Regions from separate parts of the Homo sapiens genome. Here region 1 is linked to region 2. The links are contacts of gene promoters, found by promoter capture Hi-C in blood cells and fetal thymus (Javierre and others, 2016). All regions are on one chromosome and are shown on one strand. Each heading gives the region's core, a stretch centred on a gene start or on the middle of the fragment in contact. The rest is flanking DNA. Distances are from core to core; before and after follow the strand shown. Region 1 overlaps PRPS2 (phosphoribosyl pyrophosphate synthetase 2). Region 2 holds the start of TLR7 (toll like receptor 7).

Region 1 (3,134 bases), core at 529-3,028, 51 kb before region 2:
TATTTTGGAATAAAGAATGAAATAAGAATCCAGCCCCCCCACCCCCGACTCTACTGTCTAGTTTTTCCAAAACTATTTATTAAATAATCCACCTCTATTGATTTGAAATGGCATCTTTCATCATATACAGAGTTCCCCATTTCAAATAGATAGCTATTTGCCAACTCCTACTTTTAAAAAAATGCAGAATAAAGTAAACAGAATAAATGGCTGGGGTTGAGATGCTGTTTTGTTTTGTTGAGACCTCCTTTCAAGCAGTCTGCACTCAATCACCCCTGCTCCCTCTGCCAGGAAAATCAAGCTTTTTAGGGAAGTACATTTCAGAATTTTTGTCACCTCCTTTCTCTTTTCCAAGTGTTTCTGCTACACATTATTGTCATCCTCATATTCTAGCCCCCAACTGACAGTCTCCTCAGAACAGCCTTGCGGGTAATACATGACATATGCAGTTGACATTATCTGTGACTTCTTTGCTTGATGCAAAAGGTCATAGTTAGCAAAATAAAATACTGTAAATTTCTGTCTGACCAATTGGAGCTTGTTGCTTTAGAAAAAGCTTTGAAGCTTGACTCGTTCCGGGTAAAACTGAATGTTGCCACAGGAGGTCACTCTTGGGTAGGCTTTGTAGCTTGGTTGGGTTGACCACGGAAAGAAAATTAAACCTAAGAAACCTACCTACCACTGCTGAGATAGCAAGTGTCAACCTAAAAGTGGTATGGGAAGAGGGTAAAACTAGATAACTCAGATTTAACTTTTTTTCTGATTACATAATCTTTGAAGATGCTCTATAGGAAATTTGGAAAGTAGAAAGAAGAAAATCTTAACACTTTATATCTCAACCAGTGATGCCACTATGAATAATTTGGTGTACTATGTATCTGTCTCTCCTGGGGGAGCTGATATGGCACATGCACCCACAGAGAAAAGATTGTAAATATGTGCCCAGAAGAAATCCAAAACTGTATGTATATAATTTTCGTTCTGCCTTTTTCTGCCTAAGATTTCAGTGTGGTATGTTGTGTCAACATCATTTGTTAGGAGTATGTATTAGGTCTCCATGATATACAAGGAAAAGAAGAGTTACCTATAGCTTTTTCAGGAAATCATAGCGTTCTAACAACCCAGGAAGCTGTTTGCAGGGGTATTTTCTCTTATCTTCTTCTTCTGACATTACCATTGGATACCTTTTAGTGGCTAGGGCTCCCCACTCAAGTGAGATGTCTGTGTCCCCCACTGCCAAGAACCACAGAGCTCACCTTCTTTCCCAGTCCCACTTCCATGCCTACCCTGCTGTCTGCTTGTGAGCAGGCTCGTGAGAACAGGCGCCACCTGGCAGAGAGATGAAAACAGGTTCTGCTTTAACTTCTCCGGTATAGAACTTCCACCACAAAGGGCAGTGCTTCCCAGTGCTGGGCTGTGGATTGGTATCCTGTCATGCCCAAATCTGCCTAGTCGTTACCAAATAAGCAGACGGTAATGTATGTGGACATTTTGTGCGAGGTGTTCATGTGTCTTGGGAAAACCTGTCTCATGTTCCCAGAAAGTAGCTTTCCTTACCTGGAGTTTGAGTGGCTTTTATGACATTGGCATGTAGATAATAGAACTGTACGTGTTTTTTTGTTTGTTTGTTTTTTGAGATGGAGTCTCGCTCAGTCGCCCAGGCTGGAGTGCAATGGCGTGATCTTGGCTCACTGCAACCTCCACCTCCCGGGATCAAGCGATTCTCCCGCCTCAGCCTCCCAAGTAGCTGGGGTTACAGGCAGCCACCATCATGCCCGGCTACTTTTTGTATTTTTGTAGAGATGGAGTTTCACCATGTTGGCCAGGCTCATCTTGAACTCCTAACCTCAGGTGATCCACCCACCTCGGCCTCCCAAAGTGCTGGGATTACAGCTGTGAGCCACCGTGCCTGGCTGAACTGTAGGTGTTTTAAGGTGATGATGGAGCAAAATTTTTGTTGGCCTTTAAATTAATTTTTTTAATTAAATCTTTAAGTAAGGAAACTGTTGACAGCTAGACAAGTTTACAAACAAAGGGTATCTGCTAGGGCTACTGTGGTTTTGGTTGCATCCTGAAGAATGAGTGTTTTAAGGGTAGGATGAGTGTTCTAAGGGTAGGAGAAACATGGACCTCAATATAGTAATGATTCCCTTTGCTTCAAGGACGTTGATGTCTTATTCTCTTATCTCACAGTCTCTGTGTTTAACTGGAAAGTTTGGTCCCTTTTCTTTTATGATAATTGACATAGTTGGATTTATGACCACCACCTTACTATGTGGTTTTTTTGTTTTTGAGACAGAGTCTTGCTCTGTTGCCCAGGCTGGAGTGTAGTGGCGCGATCACAGCTCACTGCAGCCCCCGATCTCCCAGGCTCAAGTAATCCTGCCACCTTAGCCTCCCAAGTAGCTGGAACTAAAGGCGCATGCCACCATGCCTGGCTAATTTTTGTATTTTTTGTAGAGATGGGGTTTTACTATGTTGCCCAGGCTGGTCTCCAATTCCTGGGCTCAAGTGATCTGCCTGCCTCGGCCTCCCAAAATGCTGGGATTATAGGTGTGAGCCACCATGCTTAGCTACTATATGCTTTAGTTTTTCCTTCTCCACAAAGTAGACATTATTATTATTTTGGTTTTGTACAATCAACATTTGTTTAGATTTGTCCACATATTGATCAATATCTTTGCTTACCTTTCTCTGCCCCTGCCCCTCACCACATCTCAATGTATCTGTGGTGATTTTCCTTTTGCTTAAGTTGCATTCTTTAAGTGGTTATATGTTAGAAATAAATTCTCAGGTTGTATAGTTTGGCTGAAACTATCTTTATTTTGCTCTCCTTCTGGAAAGGCAGTTTTGCTGAGTATAGACTCCTAGCCTGAGAGTTATTTTCTCATATCACATTGAAGATATGACTCCATAACTTCTGGCTTCCATTGGGGAAGTTGAGGACTTGGCCATCCTTACTAGGTGACTTGTCTTTATTCTTTGTCTCTTTTAAGCTTTCTTGGTCTTCTATAGTTTTGTTAAGATTGTTTGGGAATTCATTTGTTGGGTTTATTGGATCCGAGGATCCTCAGATCCAATAAACCCAACAAATCATCAGGAAACAGTTGTCAGAAGACATCATTGGTCCTGTG
Region 2 (2,890 bases), core at 275-2,774:
GCTGAAGGAGAAGGAACGATTACTGGAATTCAGGGAGGAGAGCATCACCAAACAAGAGCTTCATTAGAGGACTGCAGCCAACGCAGGGCCAGGCGGAGGGAGCCAGAGGGAGGCAGGCTCTGCTCTCCCTCTTCCTGCCCTTCAGTTTCCAACCACGGCCTCCTATTGGCCAAACCCAACCAGAAGCCAGCGAGCAAGGGGCTACTGATGAAGCACATATAGCTCAGCCTCCAGAGACACAGAACAGGATAAAAGGCTGAGACAGTGGGTCTGGTGGGGCAAAGAGAAAGCTTGCACCTGCCAGGTAAAGCATTATAGTCCCCATCCTCCCCCCACCACCTTAGTTCTTGTGCATTTCCCATCAGTTTTCTTCCAAAGCATTTCAGATCTCACTGATTTGAATGGGACCTCTTCTTCTATTACCAATTTGGATCAGTAATTATTTATGTATGAGAAAACTATTGATTTTTACATATCGTTGCATAGCAGAGTGGTTTAATAAGGAGACATTTGGTTTTTACTGCCTGTGTGGGTATCACTTGCTATGTGACTTGAGGCAAATCCAATATTTCTTCTGTTATAAATTCCAGTATTTGTAAAAAATGGGTAATAAGATCTCTATTTTATATAGTTTTAGTATTTAATGAGATAATACATATAAAGTCATTAAAACAGTGTCTGGCTCATAAAAAACCCTCAATAAATGTCACTTATTACTGTATCTGGTTTTTGAGCTGCTCTATTGCACCATTGAGTTTTCAGCCCAGTATATGTTAACCCTGATCATTATCTGCAGAAGTCCCCGTGCCACACTCTACATCATCCAAATTCTCTCCAGGTGGACTAAGTAGATTAAAGAACTTTAAACATAACTACCATATTTTGGCTCTATCTACAAAATGTCCAATAATCAGTTAAGAAAGGAACAATTCTCTTGGGGCCCACACTTTGAGAAGCAAATGCAGCTGAACTTTTTTAGAGGAAAGTGAGTGAACCAACTGGTAGCTTTGCCACTGCTTAAAAACCAGCATCCTTTCCAGCTGGGTCTAAGACAGAATAAGGTAAATTTAGATATGTCTCTAATATATCTATAGAACAGTGGTTCTCAACCCGGGGTGTTTTTGCCCCTTAGGGGATAATTTGCAATGTCTGGAGACATCTGTGATTGTCATAACTGGAAGGGGGCAGTGCTATTGGCATCTAGTGGGTATAGAGCAAGGGTGCTACCAAATATCCTATGGTGCAACAGAGAATTATCTGGTCAAAAATGTAAATAGTGCTGAGGGTGAGAAACCCTGCTATAAAAACGAAAGAAATTTGGTCTACAGAGTTGTTTGGATTTAGACAAGACGTTGCCCCAATAGTGGTGATAGAAATAAGAGGAACCCCGTGCTTTTGCAAAGCCCATATCTGGGGTGGCTTAAATAATCATGCTCCTCCCCATCCCCCGACCTGATCTTTGTAGTTGGAAACTCCAGGGCTGGCTGCCTGTAGTCTTTGTGACTACACTTCCTGCCTCCCATCACTTCATCTCAGAAGACTCCAGATATAGGATCACTCCATGCCATCAAGAAAGGTATTTTAAACATTGGAACACATATAGATAATTTAAGTAGGTAGATGTATGTGCTGTTATAAGGAAGTGGGGAGGAGAGAAGAGGGAACCGAAATCATATGCACAAAAATTTTTTTTAGAATATAAATAAAAAATGTGGTAGTCTAAAATGTCAATTCTTCAAAGATAAAGTTAGGCTTTCAGTAACGTTAGAAATGGTTTTCTGGAATATGTCTCCAGTCTACCTAACTTTGAGGAAGTAAATACTGTAAATAGATGTTTCAAACGCATTTTAAAGCAATGATCCTAGCATGTCTTTAAGCTACAGTATTGTGCTGTCTTTGAAATGTAAACTTTGATGTCTTCTCTTTCTCTTAGTTGATGCTATTGGGCCCATCTCAAGCTGATCTTGGCACCTCTCATGCTCTGCTCTCTTCAACCAGACCTCTACATTCCATTTTGGAAGAAGACTAAAAATGGTAAGAACAGCTCAGAGAACCTTAAAAAGTGTTATCTGTAATCTTTGTGGAAACAACTGAAACCAGCTGGCAAGAGCAATATTGAAGAATCTGTACTTAGGTTATTTGCTGGGGGAAAGTGCTTCCTGATATTTCACAATTGGCATTAATGAAGGGGGCATGTCACAATTTCAGATTAATCAACGCTTGCTCTGTTCAACTTCCTACAAGAATTAAATATGTGCTGTGGGGAGGAGGAGCAGATGTTTGAATTGGGGACATAGCTTCTATGTATCTCATTTCTTCAGCCTACAATTTTGGCTTTAAAGCCATAACAAATCACTGAATTACTGAAGTTACTTTGTGCTTTTTCCAGCATATGGTGTTGTCTTAATGACTGTGTGGATGAAAGTGTGTGGGCAGGCTCATAGCAATAAAATACGGGAAATCCCCGGGCTTGAGTGCTGTCAAAGAAAACTAAATTTGGACAGTAGATAAAGATACTATCAGGACTATTGCAATCGGCAGAAAGAGACCTCAGTATAGAAAGGGGCTCAATTCCAAATACAGCCAAAGACCAGTAAAGATTTCTGGCCAAGGAGTAGAGTGGGGGTCAGTGGATGGAAAATTACTAAGAGGAAACATCAAGGGTAAAAGGATTCTGGCTAAACCGACCTGACAGGATTCTTGCTGAAGACAGGCCAGGGTGATCAGACCTCACCTGTGGATGGTGGGAGATGAGGAATTTGATCAGATATTGAGGGTGATCACATACCAAGAGGAGTGGATTATCAATAAAATGACTTAGCAGGATTCCTGCTTGAACTGGGCAATGCAAAGATGGACATGAAGCCAAAGGCCGAAGCCTAGGGGTGTA

What was found. The method cuts DNA at HindIII sites, captures the fragments that hold promoters and counts their contacts. A CHiCAGO score of 5 or more calls a contact.
Region 1: a fragment that was not itself captured here is called in contact with the fragment with the promoter of TLR7 in region 2 in 3 of 17 cell types (total B cells, monocytes and naive B cells); the score reaches 7.5 in total B cells.

What each region holds. Positions count from the first base shown.
Region 1 is chrX:12,814,028-12,817,161 of GRCh38, forward strand. The region is part of intron 4 of PRPS2 (phosphoribosyl pyrophosphate synthetase 2); the gene reads left to right. Among named protein-coding and RNA genes, the nearest start is that of PRPS2, 24 kb to the left of the region's middle. The HindIII fragment of the contact is 2,432 bases long and covers 563-2,994 here.
Region 2 is chrX:12,865,548-12,868,437 of GRCh38, forward strand. TLR7 (toll like receptor 7) reads left to right here and starts at 1,525. Exons shown (of 3, transcript NM_016562.4): 1 at 1,525-1,576; 2 at 1,934-2,034. The coding sequence starts at 2,032. RefSeq lists enhancers at 2,363-2,432, 2,453-2,572. The HindIII fragment of the contact is 8,610 bases long and covers 289-2,890 here.